Regions from separate parts of the Homo sapiens genome. Here all the other regions are linked to region 1. The links are contacts of gene promoters, found by promoter capture Hi-C in human tissues and cell types (Jung and others, 2019). All regions are on one chromosome and are shown on one strand. The core of a region is centred on a gene start or on the middle of the fragment in contact, and the rest is flanking DNA. Distances in the headings are between cores, read along the strand shown. Region 1 holds the start of TCF3 (transcription factor 3). Region 2 holds the start of ZNF555 (zinc finger protein 555). Region 3 overlaps TPGS1 (tubulin polyglutamylase complex subunit 1).

The links. The method cuts DNA at HindIII sites, captures the fragments that hold promoters and counts their contacts. A contact is called where the count stands out against the background at its distance.
Region 2: the fragment with the promoter of ZNF555 here is called in contact with the fragment with the promoter of TCF3 in region 1 in 1 of the 25 tissues and cell types used here (small bowel).
Region 3: a contact is called between a fragment that was not itself captured here and the fragment with the promoter of TCF3 in region 1, in 1 of the 25 tissues and cell types used here (heart left ventricle).

The regions. Positions count from the first base shown.
Region 1 is chr19:1,650,044-1,655,163 of GRCh38, forward strand. It overlaps TCF3 (transcription factor 3), which reads right to left and starts at 2,572. Exons shown (of 19, transcript NM_003200.5): 1 at 2,257-2,572; 2 at 134-244. The coding sequence starts at 205. RefSeq lists silencers at 1,491-1,610, 1,591-1,813, 1,621-1,850, 1,941-2,020, 2,551-2,680 and 1 more and enhancers at 3,031-3,080, 3,201-3,310. The HindIII fragment of the contact is 17,847 bases long and covers 1-5,120 here.
Region 2 is chr19:2,839,476-2,844,595 of GRCh38, forward strand. ZNF555 (zinc finger protein 555) reads left to right here and starts at 2,000. Exons shown (of 4, transcript NM_152791.5): 1 at 2,000-2,100. The coding sequence starts at 2,098. RefSeq lists silencers at 1,461-1,570, 1,581-1,770, 1,991-2,290, 2,331-2,380. The HindIII fragment of the contact is 15,507 bases long and covers 1-5,120 here.
Region 3 is chr19:518,421-523,540 of GRCh38, forward strand. TPGS1 (tubulin polyglutamylase complex subunit 1) reads left to right here. Exons shown (of 2, transcript NM_033513.3): 2 at 469-1,234. The coding sequence ends at 1,003. Among named protein-coding and RNA genes, the nearest start is that of CDC34, 11 kb to the right of the region's middle. RefSeq lists an enhancer at 38-944. The HindIII fragment of the contact is 4,635 bases long and covers 60-4,694 here.

The sequences.
Region 1 (5,120 bases), core at 1,322-3,821:
CCCACCGGGGCCTCCCATCCAAACAGCTGAGGCTCCATCGCTGAAGTATTCAGCAAACACTCTCCCCTGAAAACCTTCCCGTGAACTGTGGAGGCAAAGGGGTGTCGGGGGCTGGGCGGGGGTCCTGGCTCACCATGCTGAAGTCCAGGAGGTCACTGAGCTCCTTGTCTGTGCCCACAGGCGCCATCCTCTGCGGCTGGTTCATTCTCCTGGGGCCAGGGCGGGCACCTCAGGCCTGGAAACCCTGCTTGGTGGATGTGGGGACAGATGGACAGGGAGAAACAGGGAGGGGAGAAGAGTTGTGAGTGGTCAAAGCACAGAGTGCTAAAAGCCACCTAAAAAACCCTCAACCGCCCTGGGGTCTGAGTTCCAGCAGAGCCCTGGGGGCACGGGGAGCCCTGGGAGCAGGCGCAGGGAAGCTGGAATTCCAGAGTCTAGGTCCCTGCAGAGTCCTCCCCAGAGACCACAGGGAGTCTGAAAAATGGGGGGAGGGTGTGCAAATATAAACTCCCTAACTCCCCCAGGGAACACCAGGGCATCAAGTTGCCAAGTTTAAACTGCACGCAGGGCAGCCAGAACCTCTCCTTTCTCCAACTCTCTCATTTCCAACCAACCCCGGGCTTCCTCTGAGGCCCCCTACCCCCGGGAAAGGGAGGAACAGCCCGATCCTACCCCGCCCCGAGGGAAATTTGGTGATTCCCCCCTCCCCCAGCAGATGGCACAGCCCGTTGAAGACCAGGTCGCCCCCAAATTCAACATGAAGGAAATCCACAAGTCAGAAAACCACGAAACTCTTTTACAAGCTTCAAGACTTAAAGTGCCGGGGGTGGGGGGGACGCGCATCCTATGCAGGGACCAGCAAAGCTTTCCTCCACCCTCAATCTCCCTCCCCCCAAGAAAACCCCAACAGTATTCAGGAAAGAAAAAAAAAACAGCCCTAGATTGCTTTACTGTCGCGATGTATCCGGGAATTATTTTTAAGCAAAACTTTGACAACATCCCTTGCCTGCCCTCCATGAGCGGGGAGAGCGTCTCAAGACCAGGGTGCTCCCGCGTGGTCCCAGGGGGCTCCATTCTAAGATGGGGGATGGGGGATCCACCTGCCAAGACCCATTCCACCCCCAGAAAAAGGTACAGAGAAAAATTTCCATTCCAAAGAAATGCACTCCAGGCCCCTCCAGTCTCGACTTTCCCCAGGGGTCCCCAGGTGGGGACGGGGGCAGCCCGGGAGACACCTCCGAGGCTGGGGGTGGGGAGGAGCCTCCGAGGTCGAGGGAGACCCAACTTCAGAAGCAGAGAAATCCCCTCTTTGTCTGCCAACTGGAGGCCGGGTGTGAAGCGGGCGCCCCAGCGCAGCCCCTCCCCCGCTCAGTTTTTTTCTTTTTTGGAGGGCGTGTGAAACTGACTTTTTTTGAGGACTACGAAACCGCACTTTTTTGTGGGGTAGCTGAAACCGATTTTAAGACAGACTTAGTTGGGGGGGTGGCGAGCTAAAACGGGCATTCTACGGGAGCTGGAAGACTTCTGGGGCGTCCCAAGGACTTTGAGAGACTTGGAGAATGTTTGAAGCCACTTTGCACGGCGCCGAAGGCGGGGGGCGCGCTGGAACGCCTTTTTCCCGGGGGGAGGCGGCCCGGGAAGCCGGACCCCCCTCCCCCCGCAGCCGGTGCAGGCGGTGCGGCCCGGGAGCCTTTGAAGCTCGCAGCGCGGCCGCCGCCTCGCCCCGCATTAACGCGGAGCAGATGTTACCCGCGCGCCCCCCCCCGGCCCGCCCGGCCCCGACCAGCGCCTGCAGCGCGCGGCACCTTCCCCGCGCAGACAAAAGGACGTCCCTCCCGCGCGCTCCCCACCCCAAACTCCGGCGCCCGGGCCGGGCCCCCCTCTACCCGAGAAAGGGGGCGCCCCGGGGTCCCCGTGCGCCCGGGCTGGGGGGGACGGTCCTCGCGCCTAAGTTGCACAGCCCGTCCGGCGCCCCCCGCGCCCCCGCCCGGGGCTGCTTAAAGTTTCCCGAAGTGCCCGGCCCGACGGGGGCGACGCGGGCCTGGCGAGCTCCGGGCTCCTCCACGTCGCCGCCCCCCCGGCGCCGCGCGAAGTTGGAGAACAATGACTCCCGGGCCGCGGGGCGCCCCCCGACACCGCCCCCGCCCCAACTTCCTCCGCGCCCCCCCCCAACAAGCGCGCGCGGGGCGGGCCGGGGTTCCCTGGGCACAAAGCACGGGGGTACCGGGCGCGCCCCCCGCCCCCCGCCGGGCTCACCTGCTGGGCGCGGCCGGGCACGCGGCGCGTGGGGGGGGGCGGCGGCATGAAGCGGGGGGGCCCCCCCCCGGACAAAGGTGCGTCGCGGCCGGGCCCCCGAGGGTCGCGCGTGGGCGGCGGCGGCGGCGCGCGTGGCCCGGGCCCCTCCCACCCCCGCGTGGCCCGTCCCGCGGGGCCCGTGCGCGCGGCCGGCCGGGGCGCCCCTGGGGCAGCGGCGTGCGCGGTGCCCGCGGTGCCCGCCGCCGCGTCGGCTCCGGCCCGCTACGCCCGCAGCCGCCGCCGCTGCCTCATCTTCCTGCGGCGGGAGACATGTTCCGCCCCCCGCCCGCGCCGCCCCGCCCCGCCCCGTGCAGGCCCCGCCCCTGCCCCGCCCCCGAGTGCCCCGCCCGGCGGCCCACGCGGATCCCTCCGCCACCTCCGGGCGGCTCGGGCCCGAACGCCCTAGCTCGGCCTCTCGAGCACCCTCGTGAGGACCCCGAATCCCGTGAGGTCCAGAGCCTGGGAGCGGGGACGCGCAGAGGAGGCGGTCGGGCCACGGCGCGGGGAGAAATCACGGACTATCCCCGTCCGCGGAAGCACACACGAGCTGTGCGCTTAGTCCATGACGCAAGCGAGTAAGGCCCGTGAGATTGAAAGCTAAGGCAGAGCAGTCTGGTCAATCGGAAGCCGCGAAAGTCTGATGGGCGGGGATCCTAGCCATTCGTGGTGAGGCCCCGCCTCCTTTCTTCTCGGCCCCGCCCCTCAGCAGAGGCGGGACTCTGCGAGCGAGAGGCCGCGAGAGGCGGCCGGGGTGGGTCCTGGAGTTTTGTTCTCAGGTTGGCGTGGCCGCCCGCGCGGAGCCTTCTGCTTGGTTATATTTGCGTTCCTCGGGCCGGCCCCGCGTGCTGAGTGGTGCGAGCGGGTATCACGGCCCCGAGGGGGCTACGTCAGACCCATTTTCCCGGCGGGAAAACCGACTCTGGCTCCGGCTCTGGGTCAGAGAGCCCCGCGGGGAGTCTCAGCGGTGCCTTTGCCGACTTGAGTCTCCGTCTCGGCATCTGTGAATTTGGACCTGACTTTGGACAGAACTCAGGCCAGATCTGGCTTCCTGATTCTTAGTAGTCCGTGTCTACATTTTAGTAAAAAGTGACCCCGCCTAGGATCGGGCGCCGTGGCTCCTGCCTGTGATCCCAGCGCTTTGAAGGAGGCCGAGGCGGGAAGATCGCTTGAGGCCAGGAGTTCGAGAACAGCCTGAACAACATAGTGAAACCCCCCCCACCCACACCCGTCTCTAAAAATATTTAAAATAATTTAAAATAATAATTTAAAAAGTTGACCGGACGCGGTGGCCCACGCTTGTATTCCCAGCACTTTGGGAGGCCAAGGCGGGCAGATCACCTGAAGTCAGGAGTTCGAGACCTCTCTGGCCAACACGGTGAAACCCCATCTCTACTAAAAATACAAAAATTAGCCGGGCATGGTGGCGGGCACCTGTAGTCCTAGCTACTCGGGAGGCTGAGGCAGCAGAATCGCTTTCACCCGAAAGGCGGAGGTTGCAATGAGCCGAGAGCACGCCATTGTACTCCAGCCTGGGCAACAAGGACGAAACTCCGTCTCAAAATAAATAAATAAATAAGTAAAATAAAATAAAAATACAAAAATTAGCTGGGCGTGGTGGCATACACCTATAATCTCAGCTACTCGGGAAGCTGAGGCAGGAGAATCGCTTAAACCCAGGAGGCAGAGGTTGCAGTGAGCAGAGATCGCAGCACTGCACTCCAGGCTGGGCGACAGAACGAGGCTCCGTCTCAAAAAAAAAAGTAAAATAACTAAACAAATAAATGAAAATAACACAATCTCCCAGGGCTCCCTGGGGCCCCAAAGGGAAATTTACACTCCACTCCCAGCCTGGGAAGATGCCACCATCTCGCTGGCCCGCTTGGCTCCAGCCATCCTGCCCTCTGGATGGTCCAGAACTTGCTAAGCTCATCCCCACCCCGGGCCTCTACGTTTGCTTTGTCCTCTACCTGGGAGGCTTTTCCCACCCCTATCTGGAGCCCCTGAGTCATCACAGTTCAATGCTGCACCTATGCCAGGCCGGCGGGGAGGCGGGGCCACAGGGGCCCCCCACCAAAGCCACAAGCCCCTCCTGCTATACACCCAAACTGGGCTGTCCACAGTCCGACCCTCCGTGCCCAGAGAGTTCCACGTGCCGCAGGTCTGGGGAGAGGGCTGTGGGTCCCAGGGTCTGTGCTGCAAATCCCTCATCCCTCTCCACCTCACTGTGACCTCAGGCAAGTTCGTGCTACTCTCCGGGCCTCGGTTTCTCCATCTGGACAGTGGAAGGGGGGAGTCTGGCACACAGTAGGTGCTCACAGCTGATGCCTGCCTTCCTCAGCCGCCCCCCACCCCCGCAGAGGCCTCTCCGGAGCCAGGGTCTCCAAGCAGCTCCAATCCCACCCCAGCCTCCTCAGCCCCCGGCCCTTCCTTGTGGCCCAGCCCTGACCCCATGGGTCTGAGGGTGTCTGTGGCCGGGTCTGGCTCTCCCCATTCCAGTGTAGGGAGCTCACTGTGGGCCACTCCCCACCCACACTCAGGGTCCAAGCCATAGTGTGGCAGCCGGAGTCCTCCCGAGGAGCCCTTCAGTTTCACCCACGGAAGGGAAGCAACCATCCAATCACGGACTTCTTCTTCTTCTTCTTCTTCTTCTTCTTCTTCTTATTATTATTATTATTATTTTGAGAAAGAGTCTCGCTCTGTTGCCCAGGCTGGAGTGCAGTGGTGAGATCACAGCTCACTGCAGCCTTGACCTCCTGGGCTCAAACGATCCTCCCGCCTCAGTTTCCCGAGTAGCTGGGACCACAGGCACGCGCCACCACACCCAG
Region 2 (5,120 bases), core at 750-3,249, 1.2 Mb after region 1:
AGCCTGGGTGACAGAGCAAGACTGAAAAAACCAAAAATTTAAAAAAAAAACACTTCCCTCCTAAGGTTCAATCCAATTCATTTAAACTTTTGCGTGTTTTTCTTATATCAGTTAAAATAGGGATTCAATATCCTTAGAAATATAGCCTTTTCTGTTTTAAATATAACATCTAAAAATTGTAGTAAAATACAAATAACAAATATTTACCATGTTCATCATTTTTAAGTCTAAAGTTCAGTGGCGTTAGATACGTTCCTGTTGTGCAATATTATAGACTTCCTTTTTTTTTTTTTTTTTTTTTTGAGACGGAGTCTTGCTGTGTCCCCCAGGCTGGAGTGCAGTGGAATGATCTTGACTCACTGCAACCTCTGCCTCCCTGGGTTCAAGCGATTCTTTTTGTTTTTGTTGTTGTTGTTTGTTTGTTTGTTTGTTTTTGAGACGGAGTCTCGCTTTGTCACCCAGGCTGGAGTGGTGGAGTGCAGTGGCGCGATCTCGGCTCACTGCAACCTCTGCCTCCCGGGTTCACGCCATTCTCCCGCCTCAGCCTCCCGAGTAGCTGGGACTACAGGCACCCGCCACCAGGCCTGGCTAATTTTTTTGTATTTTTTAGTAGAGACGGGGTTTCACCGTGTTAGCCAGGATGGTCTCGATCTCCTGACCTCGTGATCCGCCCGCCTCGGCCTCCCAAAGTGCTGGGATTACAGGCGTGAGCCACCGTGCCCGGCCTCAAGCGATTCTCTTGCCTCAGCCTCCCTAGCTGGGATTACAGGTGCGCGCCACCACGCCCGGCTAATTTTGTATTTTTAGTAGAGACAGGGTTTTGCCATGTTGGGCAGGCTGGTCTTGAACTCCTGACCTCAGGTGATCCGCCCGCCTCGGCCTCCCAAAGTGCTGGGATTACAGGCGTGAGCCACAGCGCCCGGCCAGCTTTTCAATCTTCCAAATTTTGGGGGGATGTACTTAAAAAAATGATCTGAAAACATTTTCCTTAGAGTTTAAAATATGAACTTGAGAGTTTTTTTGTTTTTTAATATGGAGTCTCACTCTGTCGCCCAGGCTAGACTGCAGTGGGGCGATCTCGGGTCACTACAACCTCCACCTCTCGGGTTCAAGCAATTCTCCTGCCCCAGCATCCCCAGTAGCTGAGATTACAGGCGCCCGGCACCACGCCGGGCTGATTTCTGTATTTTTAGTAGAGAAAGGGTTTCACCATATTGGCCACGATGGTCTCAAACTCCTGAACTCAGATGATCCGTCCACCTCGGTCTCCCAAAGTGCTGGGATTACAGGCGTGAGCCACTGCGCCCAGCCAAATGTGAGGGTTTTAATGAACATCTCATATCTTCTGGTTGATTTGAGCAAAGCTCCTGCCCCCTGCCAGGCTTTGGGTTCGGCCTCCCCCAGACCGGGTCTCCGGATTCGCAGCCCCCTGGGCGGGGTCTCCATGTCGCCCGCAGCGCGATGACGTCACGTCTGCGGGTCCCGCCCCCACGTAGGTCTCGGCCCTTCGGACCCGGCGCCCAGCCCCCGTTCGCCCTGCCAGGCCCGGGCCGCCCGCTTGCATCCACCTCCTGTCCGGACAAGGGGTCGCCTCGTGAGGAAACTAGTCTGGAGTTCCCACGCCCGTCCCGGAGGAGGACGCGGGCGGGGCGCCCGAACTGCGGGGAGAGGGCGATTCCGCCCCGGGCTGAAACCAGTTCGCCCAGAAGCCAGTGTCCCCGCAGGGCGGGACAGCCACGCGTGTTCGCAACGCTCCCGTCACTCACCGGCAGGGGGTGGGCCCTAGGGAACTACCCAGTCAGGACGGGCGGGGGCGGGGCCGAGACAAGTATCCAATGAGGGACGCCCAATCGGAATCCGGGGAACTGCCCAATTTACAGCGCCAGGGGACGGACTGGGGAATTCTCCAATCAGAGTCGCCGACGTTGGCAGCACTGTCCAATCAGAAGCGCGGCTTCCCGAGCTCTGTCTAATCAGGCCCCTGGGACGGGACGCCTCTGTCCTAGCCGTGAGTGCCCCGCCTGCCCCTAGCGGTCCCTGGCGTCCCGGTTCCTGTCGCGCTCACCTGCGCCGGTAGCGAAGAAATCGCCCCGGGACATGGTGAGTGTGGCGCAGGAGAGGATCCCGGTGCGGGGCAGCAGGAACCGGCGACCGCCCGAGACCGCGGCTTGGGGGGAGCTGAGGGACGCGGGGGGCGGCCCCGGCGAGGGCGGCGCAGGACGGGAGCCTGGGCCCCGGGGGTCCCGCCCGGCCCCGCCTCCCGCGCTGAGGTCGCGGCTAGGGCGCTCCGAGCTCCGGGTCCCCGCCCGCCTCTGGCCCCAAGGCTGCAGAGCGGGGAGCGGCGCCCGGAGCCCGACTCCGTCCCCGTCGTCCCGGGGTCCCCGCGTCCCTGCGCTCCCGACCCCCCACGCCCCGCCCGGGGCCGCGACGCCTCGGAGCGTTTCGCTGCGGCTTCGGGACCCCCGGGCCGCGGGAGGCAGAGTCGCCCGAGACCCCGAGGTGCGGTCCAGGCTCCCCCGGGACCCGCCCTGGGGCCGACGCCGCGGTGCCTCCTGGGGTGCGGGTCCCTGGTCGGTGCCGCCTCCGCTCGCGCTCCCGCGGCTCAGCTCCTTGGAGGCCCCGCGCCTCCGGCCGCGGTCTCTGGGGGACCCTGGGTTCCTCCCGGGACAGCCCGGGAGCGGTGGGGCCTCGGCGGGGGCGGAGACGCCCCCACCTGCAAAGGCAGCCCCTGGGGCGTGCGAGGTTTCCTCCCCTGAGTCCCGGTTTTCCTTCTTGAGGACTTCTTGTCCCCTCTGACCCCAAGATGCCTGGGGTAGGTAAGGGGAAAAAAAACAAGGGTTCCTGGTCCCTGGGCTCTCACACACAAGGAAGAAAAGTAACTGAAAAGACTAGAGAAACAAGGGAGAGCGAGGACCCCAAAAGCAAACGCACGCAGACCCACAGCGGGGACGCCCGGGAGGCTGGTGCATTAGTGTCCTCGGACTGCTGTAGCAACTGACTGCAAACGAGGGGGCTAAAACCACGGAAATATATTCTTTCACGGTTCCCTAGAAAGTGTGGATTTGAAGACGTTTCTCAGTTCTGTTTTGAGTACTAGCAATGGGATTCCTTGCTGAGGCAACACCTGAGTTGGGGGTGGGAGGGCGTCCGTCGTGGTAGCCTGGCCAGACTTGACCCCTCCCTGGGTTTGTCACTGTGAAAAGATTTTCCTTTTTTCGAGTCAGCAGTTTTTAGGAAGTGAAACGTACATTTAATTAGTAGAAGTTGGAAGATAAAATATTTCCAGGCCGGGCGCGGTGGCTCAAGCCTGTCATCCCAGCACTGTGACAGGCCGAGGGGAGCAGATTACTTGAGGTCAGGAGTTGGGGACCAGCCTGGCCAACATGGAGAAACCCCGTCTCTGCTAGAAATACAAAAATTAGCTGGGCGTGGTGGCGGGTGCCTGTAGTCCCAGCTACTCGGGAGGCTGAGGCGGGAAAATCACTTGAACGCAGAAGGCGGAGGTTGCGGTGAGCTGAGAACGCGCCATTGCACTCCAGCCTGGGTGACAGAGCGAGACTCCGTCTCAAAAAAAAAAAAAAACTTCCAACGGGGTGAATTTCAGGAAAAAAATTAAAATCTGTGTCTTACATTCCATTTGTTAAACATTCCCTGGAGTGTGTGTCGTTTCTCAGATCTGTTATTTTCTGTTTTCTTTTATTACTATTATTTTTTTGGGAGCTCTGTTGCCCATGCTGGAGTGCACTGGTGCGATCACAGCTCACTGCAGCCTCCACCTCCTGGGCTCAAGCAATCTTCCTGCCTCAGCCTTCTGAACACAGGGACTCCAGGTGTGTGCCGCCATGCCTAAGCTTTTGTATTTTTTTGTTTCTAGGGATGGGGTCTCATTCTGTTACCCAGGCTGGTCTCGAACTCCTGAGCTCAGGTGATTCTCCCTCCTCGACCAGCCTTGTTCTTTTCTTTTGAATGACAATAAATAGGATTCCAGGGCCTAAACTTCAAAATGTTACTGGGGAGAAGAGTCTCAGAGAAACAGAGAAAATCTCCTTTCCACCATACGTGCAGAAAAATGAATACATTGCCACGAAACATGTTGCAGATAAATTATACAAATTTACCAAAATATGTTATTCTCCTTGACATGGTAGAGAATTTTTGACGGTGGATGATTCTGTTCTGCTTCCAATACTGCAGTACCCTTACCTTAATTCTATAATACATTTTTTGTTGTTCCTGAAATAGGTAGAATACAAGATATTTTTCTTGTTTAGATGACAATTTGTCCCAGCTCCTTATATTAAAGTGTTTATCCTCTGCAATGCCGGCCCTGGCACTGATCAGATTTCCCCGAACACAGGGGCTGCCTCAGGGCTGTGTCCCTTTACTTTGTTTTTTTGTTTTGTTTTGTTTTGAGACAGGGTCTCGCTCTATTGCCCAGGCTAGAATGCAGTGGTGCTGTCTCGGCTCATTGCAATCTCTGCCTACTGGGTTCAAGTGATTCTCCTGCCTCAGCCTCTAAAGTAGCTGGGACTGTAGGCACCTGCTACCATGCCTGCCTAATCTATCTTTCTTTTCTTTTCTTTTTTTTCTTTCTCCCTCTTTCCTTTCTCTCTCTCTCTTTTCTTTTTTTTTTTTTTTTTTTTAAAGAGGGAGTTTCACCCTTTTCGCCCAGGCTGGAGTGCAGTGGCAGGAACTTGGCTCACTGCAATCTCTGCCTCCTGTGTTCAAGCAATTCTCCTGCCTCAGCCTCCTGAGTAGCTGGGATTACAGGCATCCGCCACCACGCCCAGCTAATTTTTGTATTTTTAGTAGAAATGGGCTTTCACCACATTGGCCAGGCTGGTCTCGAACTCCTGACCTCAGTTGATCTGCCCGCCTCAGCCTCCCAAAGTGCTGGGATTACAGGCGGGAGCCACTGCACCTGGCCATTTTTATGTATTTCTAGCAGATACAGGGTTTTGCCATGTTGGCCAGGCTGGTCTCGAACTCCTGACCTCAGGTGGCCCGCCCGCCTCAGCCTCCCCGAGTGCTGGAATTATAGGTGTGAACCACCATGCCCCCAACCAGGGTGTTTTAAAATTGGCGGCTGGTCACAGAGGTCCCCTGTGCCTGGCTGTGCC
Region 3 (5,120 bases), core at 1,127-3,626, 1.1 Mb before region 1:
GGAGGCCTGGGCTTGGGATACTGGGGGGAGGAGAGGCCAGGGCTGGGAGGGGGCTGAGAGGAGGAGGCCTGGGCTGGAGATGCTGGGGGAGGAGAGGCCCAGGCTGGGGATGCTTGGGGGAGGGAGGCCTGGGCTGGGAGGGGACTGGGAGGAGGGAGGCCTGGGCTGGGGATGCTGGGGGGAGGAGAGGCCCGGGCTGGGGATGCTTGGGGGAGGAGAGGCCCGGGCTGGGGATGCTGCGGGGAGGAGAGGCCCTAGCTGGGAGAAGGGAGGCGGGGGCTCAAGAGAGGAGCTTCAGGGATAGAGGGTGAGGAGGAGGGGAGGCCGGGGATGGGGGGTAGGAGGAGAGGGGAGGCCAGGGCTGGCTGGGGGGTCGGGGAGGCTAGGGCATAGGCCTGGCGAGGAGGGGAGGCTGGGGCTGGGTGGGCGCGCGGTCTCTGCCGGCCCCCAACGTCCCCGTCTCCGCAGGGCCGCCTTCAACAACAACGTGAGCGTGGCCTACGAGTGCCTGAGCGCCGGCGGGCGCAGGAAGAGGCCGGGGCTGGACGGGCGCACCTACAGCGAGCTGCTCAGGCGCATCTGCCGGGACGGCCAAGCCCCCGAGGAGGTGGTGGCGCCGCTGCTGCGCAAGGTGCAGTGCCGTGACCACGAGGCGGTGCCGCTGAGCGTCTTCCGCGCGGGCACACTCACCTGCTTCGTGCTGCTGGAGTTCGTGGCGCGCGCCGGCGCGCTCTTCCAGCTGCTGGAGGACTCGGCCGCCGCCGTGGCCGACCGCCGCGTGGGCCAGGCCGTGCTGGACACCCTGGAGGGCGCGCTGCAGGCCAGCGACGCCGCCGCGCCCGCGCGCTTCCTGGAGGCCGGCTCGCGCTTGGGGCCCGACAGCCTGGCGCTGGCGCTGGACCGCGCCGTCGGGGGGCGGCGGCCCAGCGCGCCCATGACCCGCGAGGAGTTTCTGGAGAGGGCCGCCGCGCTCTTCATCGCGAAGGTCAAGCCGGTGGGCTGAGGCCCGTGGGCCGCGCGGATCCGGGATCTGCGCTGGGGGGTCCCCGCGTGCGGGGCGCGCGGAGCCTTCCCTTCGCCCTGGTGAGGCCCTGCCATAACCAGGCGCCCAGCCCTGCGGAGGAGGCCGGGGCTCCCAGGAAGCGGACGCCCGGTCCCCACACAGCGCCGCGGCCGCCCCTCCACCCCCGCGGGAGCCCCTGCCCCACGCTAATAAAATGTGTTGCGAGGCTGACGCTGGTGTGTATGCGAGCGCCCGCCTCCCAGCCCCGGTGCCCGCAGAAGACGCTTTTCCCCAGCAGGTCACCCACGGCCCCGGAACCGCGGCGACTGGAGGCTGGATTCGAGGCCGGAAACGCCGGGACCCCTGGACCCGGCCTGGTGGGAGCAGCGGAGGGGGACGCCCCACGGGGCCCTGCGGAGCCTGAAGCCGGAGAGCAGGCGGCTCTTCTGGAACGCAGGGCCCGGGCCCTCCAGCCCCGCCCGGCCCAGGTATCCTCCCTGAGCCTCAGTCTCCCCAGATGTCAAATGAAGAGGCCAGCTGGGCAGATGGTAGTGACATTGGTGAGACAACAGCCCTAACACTTCCCAGGAACTGAAGTGCCTCATGTGATTGATTCCCAGGCCCAGGCAGCGGAGGTTACACCCTCAGCAAGGGCTCAGCTGGGATCTGCGCCCGGCCTGCTCCAGAACGCAGCCCACTCGCCACCGGTGGGGAGGGTCGTCCGGTATCCCCCAGTGCCCACCACCACCAACCAGAATCACTTCTCAGACTGCAAGAGCGAATCCAGCCGGGCGTGGTGGCTCACACCTGTAACCCCAGCACTTTGGGAGGCTAAGGCGGCGGATCACTTGAGGTCAGGAGTTCAAGATCAGCCTGACCAACATGGTGAAACCCTGTCTCTACTAAAAATACGAAAAAAAAAAAAAGCTGGGCTGTGGTGGCAGGCGCCTGTAATCCCAGCTACTCAGGAGGCTGAGGCAGGAGAATAACTTGAACCCAGGAGGCAGAAGTGGCAGTGAGCCGAGATTGAGCCACTGCACTCCAATCTGTGCGACAGAGTGAGACCCTGTCTCAAAAACAAAACAACAACAACAAAAAAAAAACAGGCCAGACGCAGTGGCCCACGCCTGTCATCCCAGCACTTTGGGAGGCAGAGGCAGGTGGATAACGAGGTCAGGAGATGGAGACCATCCTGGCTAACATGGTGAAACCTTGTCTCTACTAAAAATACAAAAAATGAGCCGGGCGTGGTGGCGGGCACCTGTAGTCCCAGCTACTCTGGAGGCTGAGGCAGGAGAATGGCGTGCACCGAGGAGGCGGAGCTTGCAGTGAGCCGAGATCGCGCCACTGCACTCCAGCCTGGGTGACAGAGCGAGACTCCGTCTCAAAAAAATAAAAAAATAAAAAGTGAATCCAGAACTCCAGCTCCAGTTGCTGGCAGGTGACTTCACTCCCTTGGCCTCAGTGTCTCCTGTTAAATGGGAGTCCCCACAGCCTGTTCTGGTGGAGGGGGTCCAATCGGACATAGAGAACACTCAAGCCTTGTTTCTCCCCTGCTGTCACCGCCACATCACAGTCATCCACACAGAAAAGACTTCTGTGACCACATGTGGGAGCGTTTTTTCCCACACACCAACCAGCAGACGCCAGCCGGGTGTCCTCTTAATTCAGCTCTGACGCCTTCTACCCAGAGATAGTGTCAGATCCCACAGGCCGAGGGCTCAGTCCCCGAGCCTCTCCCTCTTCAGACACCAGTTGCGAATCTGGGCTTCCAGGACTTCGGTCTGGCCGGGTTCAAGTTGGGGTTCCCAGCACCCCTTTGGGTTCAATTAATTTGCTGGAGCAGCTCACTGAACTCGGAAACACTTGTGTTTCCTGGTTTACTATAAAGGATGTGGCAAAGATAGCAGAAGAAGGGACCACAGGTGAGGTACGTGTAGGGTGGGGATTGGAGTGCCATGAGGATGCACAGGGCACCATCTCAGAGCTTCCAGGCATCTCCACATGTTCAGCTCTTGGAAGCTCCCCAGAACCCAGTTCTCTAGGGTTTCGTGGTTTTTTGTTTGTTTGTTCATTTTTGAGACGGAGTCTTGCTCTGCCACCCAGGCTGGAGTGCAGTGGCGCAATCTCGGCTCACTGCAACCTCCCCCTCCTGAGTTCAAGCGATTCTTCTGGCTCAGCCTCCTGAGTACCTGGGATTACAGGCGCCCACCACCACACCTGGCTAACTTTTGTATTTTTAGTAGAGACGGGGTTTCACCACGTTGGCCAGGCTGGTCTCAAGCTCCTGACCTCAGGTGATCCACCCACCTCAGCCTCCCAAAGTGCTGGGATTACAGGCGTGAGCCACCACACGCGGCCTAGGGATTTTATGGAAGCTTCATGATGTCAGCATTACTTCCCCAGGGGTATAGGGCAGGACCCTCTTTGGGGAGGGTCCCAAGACCCGTAATCGAAAAGGTAAGATTAGAGCTCTGCAGCCCAGAGGAGGGCGGGAGATTATTTCCTGAGGCCTAACGAGCTCAGCAGTGCAGCAAAAGACTGCAACTAGGGCTTCAGGAGCTATGATCCGGGAACTGAGGAAGAAAACTACTCTCTATTCTAACACCACACACGGGAACAGAATTTTATTTTATTTTAATTTTTTGAGACAGAGTCTCGCTCTATCACCCAGGCTGGAGTCCAGTGGCGTGATCTCGGCTTACTGCAAGCTCCGCCTCCTGGGTTCACACCATTCGCCATTCTCCTGCCTCAGCATCCCGAGTAGCTGGGACTACAGGTGCCCACCACCACGCCCAGCTAATTTTTTGCATTTTTAGTAGAGACGGGGTTTCACCGTGTTAGCCAGTATGGTCACGATCTCCTGACCTCATGATCCGCCTGCCTCGGCCTCCCAAAGTGGTGGGATGACAGGCGTGAGCCACCGTGCCTGGCCTTCTTTTTTTTTTTAGACGGAGTCTCGCTCTGTCACCCAAGCTCGAGTGCAGTGGCTCAATCTCGTCTCACTGCAACATCTGCCTCCCAGGTTCAAATAATTCTCCTGTCTCAGCCTCCTGAGTAGCTGGGATCACAGGCACGTGCCACCGTGCCTGGCTAATTTTTGTATTTTTAGTAGAGATGGGGTTTCACCATGTTGGTCAGGCTGGTCTTGAACTCCTGACCTTGTAATCCACACACCTTAGCCTCCCAAAGTGCTGAGATTACAGGCATGAGCCACCGTGTCTGGCCGGGAACAGAATTTTTAAATTTTTACAAGTTCCACGATGGCAGAGACCACTCCTGTCTCCCAGTTTCCCAGCACTGAGCTGGGCTTAGGATAGGTGATCAATGAACCAATGAATCAATACAGGAATGAATCCTGGCAAATCGCCTGTTTCCCAAAAAAAGCCACAATAATGGTTCCACTCCCCGCCGCAGAGGCAGATGGAGAGGTAGAATCCGCATCCCCCTGCGGGACTGGAGCTCCTTCCAAGGCAGGGCCCCTGCGGGACGCTCACCCTCTGGACTGGGCACCAGCTGCGATGCCTGCGCTGACGGCAGCTCCTGCTGTGCAGACTCAGGAGCTGAATAAATGACAGTTGTGGTTCTAGGCTACCAAATTTGGGGTGATTCATTACGCAGCAATGAGTAACAAAGATTAATGAAAGGTGCCCACTCCATCCACAGGTGCTGTTAGGCTACCACAAACGCCCCTTACAGGTGTGAGCCTTACAGGTCATACGCCAGAGCATTTCAGTGAGCACGGGCCGGGGGCTCAGCAGCATTTCCGGTGAGCACGGGCCGGGGGCTCAGCATTTCCGGTGAGCACGGGCCGAGGGCTCAGCAGCAATTCCGGTGAGCACGGGCCGGGGGCTCAGCATTTCAGTGAGCACGGGCCGGGGGCTCGGCATTTCCAGTGAGCACGGGCCGGGTGCTCCGCAGCATTTCCGGTGAGCACGGGCCGGGGGCTCAGCAGCATTTCCGGTGAGCACGGGCCGGGGGCTCAGCATTTCCGGTGAGCACGGGCCGGGGGCTCAGCAGCATTTCCGGTGAGCACGGGCCGGGGGCTCAGCAGCATTTCCGGTGAGCACGGGCCGGGGGCTCAGCATTTCCAGTGAGCACGGGCCGGGGGCTCCGC